Regions from separate parts of the Homo sapiens genome. Here all the other regions are linked to region 3. The links are contacts of gene promoters, found by promoter capture Hi-C in human tissues and cell types (Jung and others, 2019). All regions are on one chromosome and are shown on one strand. Each heading gives the region's core, a stretch centred on a gene start or on the middle of the fragment in contact. The rest is flanking DNA. Distances are from core to core; before and after follow the strand shown.

What was found. The method cuts DNA at HindIII sites, captures the fragments that hold promoters and counts their contacts. A contact is called where the count stands out against the background at its distance.
Region 1: a contact is called between the fragment with the promoter of PXT1 here and the fragment with the promoter of MAPK13 in region 3, in 1 of the 25 tissues and cell types used here (thymus).
Region 2: the fragment with the promoter of ETV7 here is called in contact with the fragment with the promoter of MAPK13 in region 3 in 2 of the 25 tissues and cell types used here (heart left ventricle and ovary).

What each region holds. Positions count from the first base shown.
Region 1 is chr6:36,441,600-36,444,650 of GRCh38, forward strand. It overlaps PXT1 (peroxisomal testis enriched protein 1), which reads right to left and starts at 1,255. Exons shown (of 5, transcript NM_152990.4): 1 at 936-1,255. KCTD20 (potassium channel tetramerization domain containing 20) reads left to right here and starts at 1,401. Exons shown (of 8, transcript NM_173562.5): 1 at 1,401-1,512. RefSeq lists enhancers at 1-269, 1,754-1,853, 2,459-2,518 and silencers at 76-145, 1,304-1,593. The HindIII fragment of the contact is 9,351 bases long and covers 1-3,051 here.
Region 2 is chr6:36,386,308-36,389,018 of GRCh38, forward strand. It overlaps ETV7 (ETS variant transcription factor 7), which reads right to left and starts at 1,362. Exons shown (of 8, transcript NM_016135.4): 1 at 1,229-1,362. The coding sequence starts at 1,234. It overlaps ETV7-AS1 (ETV7 and PTX1 antisense RNA 1), which reads left to right and starts at 313. Exons shown (of 2, transcript XR_926758.3): 1 at 313-623. RefSeq lists an enhancer at 433-1,256 and a silencer at 1,383-1,592. The HindIII fragment of the contact is 5,079 bases long and covers 1-2,711 here.
Region 3 is chr6:36,129,147-36,132,181 of GRCh38, forward strand. MAPK13 (mitogen-activated protein kinase 13) reads left to right here and starts at 1,367. Exons shown (of 12, transcript NM_002754.5): 1 at 1,367-1,555; 2 at 2,125-2,254. The coding sequence starts at 1,437. RefSeq lists silencers at 1,263-1,512, 1,553-1,622, 2,263-2,372 and enhancers at 1,518-2,121, 2,013-2,132, 2,843-3,035. The HindIII fragment of the contact is 28,110 bases long and covers 1-3,035 here.

The DNA.
Region 1 (3,051 bases), core at 5-2,504, 310 kb after region 3:
AGGGAAGCTGAGTCACCATGGGGACGTGAGACTGACTTACAGATGACGAGTGCAGCCTCACAGCCTAGTCCATGTTGAGATAAACACAATACAGTCCTGCATACTTTATAGTCATAAACGAGGGAGAATAGAAATGGAAAATGACCCTCTAGGCCTCTAAGACCAAATTATAATGAAAAAATTTATGTCTTCAGTTTTGAAAATTAAATTTTTTGACCCTGATAAAACAAATTTGCTATACAAGTATCCGTTAACCGTGTGAAACCTACTGAGTCAAACTATTTTCTTACATTCCTTCCACTTCAACACCAATTCTAATCCAATTCCAAATTAGTTTTCAGAGAGTCTCTTGTAAGGAAAAGGAGAATCGACTTCGAATTTTAAAATTTGTGCTATTATTAGTTTATAGAGCTTTCAACAATTTACAAATAGTTTGCATAATCAGTATATTTAATTAGTATATATAGACATATATATATATATTTGAGAGGGAACTTCACTGCAACCTCCCAGTTGCCTCCTGGGTTCAAGTGATTCTCCTGCCTCAGCCTCCCAAACAGCTAGGGTTATAGGCGCCCACCACCACGCCCGGCTAATTTTTGTATTTTTAGCAGAGACAGGGTTTCATCATGTTGGCCAGGCTGGTCTGGAATGCCCAACCTCAGGTGATCTGCCCGCCTCGGCCTCCCAAAGTGCAAGGATTACAGGCGTGAGCCACCAAGCCCGGCCTAGTGTAATTTTTAAAAGTACAAAAGCCACTAGAAACCGTGACAATAAGAACTTCCTTTTGGGTTTTCCAGCATTTGGTTCATAGGACATGGACCATATATAGATGTTTTTTGAATGCTGAAATCTTTTACTCATAACACAGTTTTCCCAGTAACTTGCTTCCGGTTGATTTAAAATTTGTAATACACCTTTGTAATAGCAGGTACCTTCATGAAACTCAGTATTTGAGAAAAATGTGGAGTTTTTCCCCCTTTCTTTTGGCCAGAATGTATATCCAGGGTAGTGACTTTCGAGCAAATGCGTTTAAGCAACTCCAGTATTCTTACTACGCTACCTCCAACCTCGCTCCACGCATGGGGAGATCAGGGTTCCACATTTTCGGGTAAGCATTAGCCGTCCTGGCGCTGCACGAGCGTATTCTACAATTCCGAAAACTACTAACTTTTCCGTCTGCAACCTTTAATAATTGAGAGGGTATGCGCAACTCAGAAAAGTGCGCCCGCTGAGGTTGGGTGCAGAGTGGACTGGAGGAAAGGCGACACCCATTTACGGTGCGGCCCCGGACGGGGTCCCCAGACACGGCCTTCCCGGCGTGCCACGCGCGGAGGGGACTCTTAACGTGAAGCGCTGGGTGACTCAGCCGCGTGGCCGCGCGGTCCGGGGCGGGGGGCGCGCGCCGCTGCGGCACAGCCGGTCCCGGCTGCGGCTTCTGGCTGCGCGGCCTGCGCGCGCCTCCCGGGCGGATTCCAGCCCCGAGCGGGACAGCGCGGCGGGGAGCGACGAGTAAGTGGCGGCGCGGTACGGTTTCGGGCGCGAAGACCGGGCAGGGAGAGTGTGGCGGCGGGCGTGGCCCGAGTCTTCCCTTTGTGGCCGAGGGGGCGTCTCCTCCGGACGCGGCGGCGGTTCGGACCCCCGAGTCGAAAGGCCGCGGGGCTGAGCTGGGCGCGAGGAACCTGTGGGCAGCGGCTTGATGGGCTCCTGTTTCCGCGCGGAGGGCAGAGTCTGGTGATCCTGGGGAGGGAGGCGACGCTGCGCCCAGGTGGTGGGCACAGCTGAAGTGTAACTTGACTGCTTGACTGCTTTTTGCAGGCCTCGGGTGGTTCATCCCGCCGGAGAGGAATGGCGAGAACCTGGAGTGTTGACTGGCAAAACATTTGCAGACGCGGTTTTTCTGGCAATTAATTGGCTCCATTAAAAATTAGGTAGTTGGTGGGGACTTCCTCCTGAACTCTGGAGCCGAGCGCATTTTGCTCGGTCTTTTCAGCCCTGTTTCCGCGTCTTCCTTCCCTGCCACCCGCAAATTGCCAGCTTTCATCCGTGGCTCTGAGTGCAAAAGAGCTGGGGAAAGCCTTAACCAGCAATTTTCTTTTAAATAAAACTTTGCTTTTTATAGCAGTGTCTTCAGGTTTAGAAGCCCAGTTCTGCACTATGAGAAAACTCTTCTATTTTGGAGTTTGTGATTCTTTCTGAAAATTCCTCAGTTGAAGAGATTTATTTTTAAATAAGAATCTAGTGAACAAACTAACATGATAAACAAGGCTGTGAAGGAACTGTTTAACCAGCTTATGAAAATATGTCCCAGAGTCCTTAGTTTTGTTCCTGTTCGCTGTGCGAGAAGTTGAGGTAGTTTTTTAATGGTCTTCAAAACAAAGTGTTGTAGTAGTGTCTGTCGGATGTGATGAATCCAGAGTCAGAGGACTTCCGCTCAAGGCCCCCACCTGAAACCCCAATTCCTAGGCCATAGTTCTGAAACAGAAGATTGTTCCTTAGTAATAAGGTTGCAGTACCCTAGCACCTCTTCCATAAATTTGATTCTAGAGATTTGTGATGGGTCCCTGAGTCTGGGATTTAAGCAAGCACCTGCACTCTTGGTCTGTTACTGATGATCCAGGGACCGACCACACGTTGACAGACACCACCTTTAGGCTGGGCTGGGAATTTTAAAAACTGCCCAACAGCCTTAACCCTTTGTCGATGTTTTCCTCCCCTGCCCTAAACCAGTCGTAGGACAAGAAGCCCTGACTCTCCAGAAGCCAATATGAGAAAAGATAGTGCTTTTTTTGACCCTGACACGGGGTAGGAAATGATTTTCATGCATATTCCGATATTGCTCTGATGGTTTAGAGATAGCCCATTAATCTTTTCCTTCTGAGGGCTGCTTCTAGTATCATCAGAGCTTAATGCCATTAGGCCAAATCTCCTCCGCCCAGCTCACTCAAGTCTCCCCATGGAACCAGGGCAGCCAATGCCATATAATTCCCATGGCCTTGACTGTCATATTATCTGGTATGTAGCAGTACTAGTAGCATTATGAGGGCTTTC
Region 2 (2,711 bases), core at 112-2,611, 260 kb after region 3:
AGAGAGCAAGACTCCGTCTCAGAACAAACAAACACTATTTTCAAAAGAGAAAAAGAAAGGATAAGGATACATTTCTGAATCCTAAGGTCTCACCACGGGAAGCCTGTATCTTTACAATTCAACAATCAGCATGGCCCCCAGAGATGACGGGGTTCATCCATTCAGATGAGAAAATGAAGAAAGTGGCAGGATTTTGTAGGAATAGGAAGCTCCTTCGGGCTCATGCCCAGCCACAGGCTGCCACAGCACGGAAAGGAAAAGTGAAACCAGCTCCATCAAGTCATTTTTCACTCTAGGATTGTCAAAAGCTTTACATTCATCTCTTGGGATCCGAGGAGAGATATCTGCCGAGAGAGAATTTGGATCGGAGCCAGCAAAGCAAACTCCAGAAGCCTTGGCTGCTGCGAAAGGGGATTCAACACCTTTCCGGGTCGTTCTCACTTCATTTCCAGCCGGTCCCCCTTTGGTGCTGTTTCCCAAGTAATCAGACCTCAGGGGTTGCCTCCTGGTGGGGAAAGGGAAGCTTGCCTTGCTGGAGAAGGGGCTCAAGGCACAGGACTTGCCTCGGACTTGCCAAGGAGGCTTGCAGGAGGCTCTTTGTCTACTCCTCTGTCCTCATCCAAGTAAGAGGAGCGGGGAATTCCGAGGCTGTAACTGCCTGGGAAACGCCAGCCACGGAGCTGCTGAGGATCAGACTCCTGGGTTTCAGCATGGAGGCCAGGGAAGGGTCTGATAATGGGTATGGGTCCTGGCGAGAGGGGAGTGGAGAAAGGCCTTGGAGTGGGACGGGGCGCCAGCTCTGGGGGCAGTCTCGAGGCACCTAGAAAACCGGCGAGTGGGGAGAGGCTGCTAAAGAGGGGCTCCCTGCGAGAATGCGTTCACCAGCTGTGAGGACCTGGCTGGCGCACGAACTTCCAAAGACCTCACATCTGGTTGGTGTAGGGGCGACCAGTGGTAAGGGGGCTGCGGAAAGGGCCCGCAGGGGCTGTGCGTGATGCCTTCAGAGCTGTGTATGACACCGAGAGAGTCAGGGGCGGTGACCCGCGTCTGGAGGTGGAAGGGGAAGTGAGTGAGGGATGGATGTGAGGTTTAGGAATGTGTTGGAAAGAGAGATTCCCGCCAGGTAAAAGGTCTGATAAAATAGGTTTGGAAATCTAGGTGGTGAGGAAAGGATGCGGGAGCAGGTGGCTCTGCGTGCGCGCTGCGTGTTCAGCCGCCAGGCTCTTACCTGCATTACAGGTGGAGGTGAGGAAGCCACCGGCTTTCTGTCTTGAGCGCTCCCCTGGCTGTGGCTGCTGGGGCCCTAGGCCCGCGCCCCGCAGTCCTCCTCCGCCAAACCCCTAACCTGGCTCCGAGAACTGGAAGGTCGCGTGGGAGGAAATCTCTTTCGAGAAGCGCCAAGGCGTGTGCGCCCGGGTCCTCCGCAGGCGGGCAGGCGCGCGAGGCGCTCCGGTAATCGCTATCCTTCCGGGAAACGAAAACGAAAGAGCGGGATGCGGTTCCACTTGCGCCGCTGCGGGCTAGGAGCAGGGCAGGGCAGGGCAGGGGCCGGCCCCGTGGGAGCGCAGCACCGGGGCGCTGCCCGCTCGCTAGCCTGGGAGGCGTGGGTCCTGCACACAGCCTCCAGCCGGCGGACAGTCCCTCTGGCGACCTGGCCTTGGCTCCCACTGGGGCAGAGCCGGGATTCTGCAGGATCTGAGGATCTAAGGGGACCCCTAGTCCTGAACTCGGAACCAACTGCGTCTCTCACGGTCCCGAGCCCAGGACCAGGAAGGACCCTGTGAGTCTCCGCACATAGGATAGGAAGGGGCCTCGCATGGTGCCTCTCCCTTTAGGGGTGAGTGACCTTCCCGGCCCCGATACTGTCTCGGCCTGCCGTTTGGCCCCGCTGAGGCCCCACAGGTCCGGAACCGTCGCACCACCATCAGAGCGGCTGTGCTCTCCTGAGCAGGGCCAGACTACTCGGAGATCCCGACTGACACCTTTTCCTGGGCCTCTGGGTGCTCCGGGGTTGGTGCCTGCCCACCCATCACCCTTTCCATCTGTCTCAGCTCCCCCTGTCTCAAGAGAGGTTGTGCGCATAAAAACAAACCAGAAGACACCGAAGAAAAGGAAAGAAAAGCATTAACAACCTTCTGCTGAAAATCTGAGGGTGTAGACGCTGTTACAAAGTAGGCTTAGCACTGGTATATCATCACAAGCTCTAGGCCAGCAATAAGAAACCAGTAAGAACAAGGCCAGAAACCCAGTAGGAAAAAAAAATGAGCAAAGGATATGAATAAACAGTCCACATAAAAGGAAATGCCAAATGGCTCCTGAATATACAAAAAGATGCCCAGGGTGCAGTGGCTCATGCCTGTAATCCCAGCACTTTGGGATGCCAAGGTGGGAGGATCGCTTGAGCCCAGGAGTTGGACACCAGTCTGAACAACATGGTGAGATCCTGTCTTTACTGAAAATTTAAAAAATTAGCCGGGCATGGTGGGGCTACACCTGTAGCCCCAGCTATTCAGGAGGCTGAGGATGGAAGATCGCTTGAGCCTGAGAGTTGGAGGCTGCAGTGAGCCGTGACTGTGCCACTGCACTCCAGCCTGGGCAGCAGAGAAAGAAAAAGATGCTCAGACAAACTCACTATTTTAAATGTGCAAATTAAAGTTATTCTGAGATAGAAATTTTTACCCATAAATTTGGCAAAAATTTAAAAGTTTACT
Region 3 (3,035 bases), core at 117-2,616:
AGGTGGGCGGACCACCTGAGGTCAGGAGTTGAAGACCAGCCTGGCCAACATGGTGAAACCCCGTCTCTACTAAAAATACAAAAATTAGCTAGGAGTGGTGGTGTGCACCTGTAGTCCCAGCTACTCAGGAGGCTGAGGCAAGAGAATTGCTTGAACCTGGGAGGCGGAGGTTGCAGTGAGCTGAGATGGCGCCACTGCACTCCAGCCTAGGCAATAGAGTGAGACTCCATGTCAAAAACAAACAAAAATCCTGCACATTTGAACCTGCGTGGATATTTGGTATTATAGAATTAGTGCTATTAATTTTAGGTTTAAGAATGTATTGTGGGCCAGGCGCGGTGGCTCACGCCTGTAATCCCAACACTTTCGGAGGCCGAGGCGGGTGGTTCACGAGGTCAGGAGTTCAAGACCAGCCTGGCCAAGATGGTGAAACCCCATCTCTATTAAAAATACAAAAATTAGCCGGGTTTGGTGGCAGGCACCTACAATCCTAGCTAATCGGGAGGCGGAGGCAGAGAATTGCTTGAACCCGGGAGGCGGAGGTTGCAGTGAGCCGAGATGGCAACTGCACTCCGACAGAGTCTCAAAAAATATATATATATAGTATTGTGGATACGTACTTTTAAAAATCCTTACGTTTTAGAGATACAAAAATATTTATGAATAAAATGATATGACGCCTGGGTTTTGCTTCAAAACGATGGTGGGAGAGGAATGTGGATGAAATAAAATTGATTATGAGTTGTGGTTGCTGGGGAATTGGGGTCACGGGGGTTCATTAGAACCTCCTATCAGATGTGGTTCAGAAGCCTCAGACCTGGGAGCTGGCTAGAAATGCAGAATCTCGGCTCCACCCCAAACCTACTGAGTCAGGATCTGTATTTTAATCAAATAAAATGCCCAGGGGATTCCTGAGCACACTGAAGTGTGAGAAGCGCTGGCTTACTCTGTTCAATTCTTTCCTGCATGTTTGACATTTTCCATAATGAAGAGGTTGTGGGGTTTTGTTCTGCTTTCCTGTGTGTTCACAGTCACAGGGAGCTCTTCCTACGGAGACCGGGGCTGGAGGGAACTGGGAAGCACTGCCTCCCCGCTCCTGCTTGGACCCACCAGCCCCGCCGCTGGCCCGCGCTCGGCTGGGAGGCACCGGGGTCCCGCTGGGCAGCCCCGACCCCGTGCCTGGGCCGCACCTGCCGCAGTGGCTCCGTCGGGCCGGGCGGAAGCGCGGGAGCGCAGGGCTGGACAGGCCCGGGCGTGGCGGCCCCGGCGCACCTGGGCGAGCCGGCAGGTGGGAGCGTAGCAGCCCGGGGCCCCCGCCCTCGCGCGGGGGAGGAGCGGGCGGCGCGGGGCGGGCGCAGCGGGGGTCGGGGCGCTGGGAGCCCGTTGGGCCGCGAACGCAGCCGCCACGCTGGGGCCGCCGAGATCGGGTGCCCGGGATGAGCCTCATCCGGAAAAAGGGCTTCTACAAGCAGGACGTCAACAAGACAGCCTGGGAGCTGCCCAAGACCTACGTGTCCCCGACGCACGTCGGCAGCGGGGCCTATGGCTCCGTGTGGTGAGACCCCTGGGCCGCTGGGGGGCGGGGGGCGGGCGCCAGGCTCTCCCCTTTCCGCCCAGCCCGCCCTGGGCTGGCCCCTCGCCAGCGCCACCTTGACCGCGGACCTCAAGGCCCAGCGCCCTCCCCGGGGCCACCCAGCGGCCATCTCCCTTTTCTCACCGAGTGGCTGAGTGAGGTCTCTGGGGGTTGAGTTGGGACTGGGCCTGGTTCTCCAGGACTGTACACTTGCAAGACCCCAGAGTTCATCGGGCAGATCCTCACTGTTACAGACGAGTACACCGAGGCCCCAAGAGGGGGAGGTGGCTCGCCAAGTTGCAGACAGAGTGAGACTCCCGCCCTGCCGTGGATCCCGTCGCAATGAGACGTTGCTGCCCCTGGCGCTGTGCCCCTCTCTCAGCTCCTGCCTGGCTTCCTACTCCCTGCCCTGCGTCCCGCGGCTCCCCCATATTCTAGGTGGTGGGCCTAGTCCCCTCTCAGCCCAGCTGCCCAGTGGGAGGGGTCAGGGCGGTCTGGGAGATACGGCCCAGGAGGAGAGCCTCGCCTGCTGACCGGCCTGTGCCCGACAGCTCGGCCATCGACAAGCGGTCAGGGGAGAAGGTGGCCATCAAGAAGCTGAGCCGACCCTTTCAGTCCGAGATCTTCGCCAAGCGCGCCTACCGGGAGCTGCTGCTGCTGAAGCACATGCAGCATGAGAACGTAGGTGGTGGCTGCCCCGGGGAGGGGGTGGGGGCTGCCCTGGGGAGTCAGGGGCAGGCGCAGGCGGGGCCTCCCGGTATGGAGAGCTCGGGACAGTCTCCTCCCTGCTCCCCTGACGGTGCCTCTCGCCTCACTATTGAAAGGAGGGGGTGCCGAGACCTTCCCTGCCCACTTTCCAGGAAGAGGTCAAAGGGTATTTTTGGCAGAATGCACTTTGTGAGGTACAGACTGTGTTATCCTACAGAGGAAATTGGCACAGGGGAACTTTGTAATTGGTTCCATGTCTGAGAGCTTGTGGCCAGCTGGGACTAGAATCCTAGTTAGCGTTGTGTCCACGTGACCCTGATAACAATAGCAATATACACATATTGAGCACTTCCTATGTTCTAAGAGCTCTGCATACACTAACTTGTCTAGTCCTCATGATATATGAGTACTACTGCCCCCATGTCACAGACAGGAAACTAAAGCACAGCAAGGCTCACAGATTAGATGGTTAGTCAGTAGCAGAGCTGGGGTTTCAATCTCGGCAGCGAGGCTCCCGGTCTGAGCACATGACCATCAGATTGTCTTGTCTGATAGAAGCAGCTGGGAAAACCAGGGGCCCAGCTCAGGGCCTGGCAGCCAGGCTTTGCTGCAGGATACCTAGATTGGAGGGCAGACATTTCAAAGAATGATTTCAAAATGTTATGTACATTTTAAGCCCATCCTTCTCCAGCAAACCCCTCCCCTATGGCCTCCAGCCAGGGTGATCTTGCCCTTGGCTCTGAACCAGCCCTGT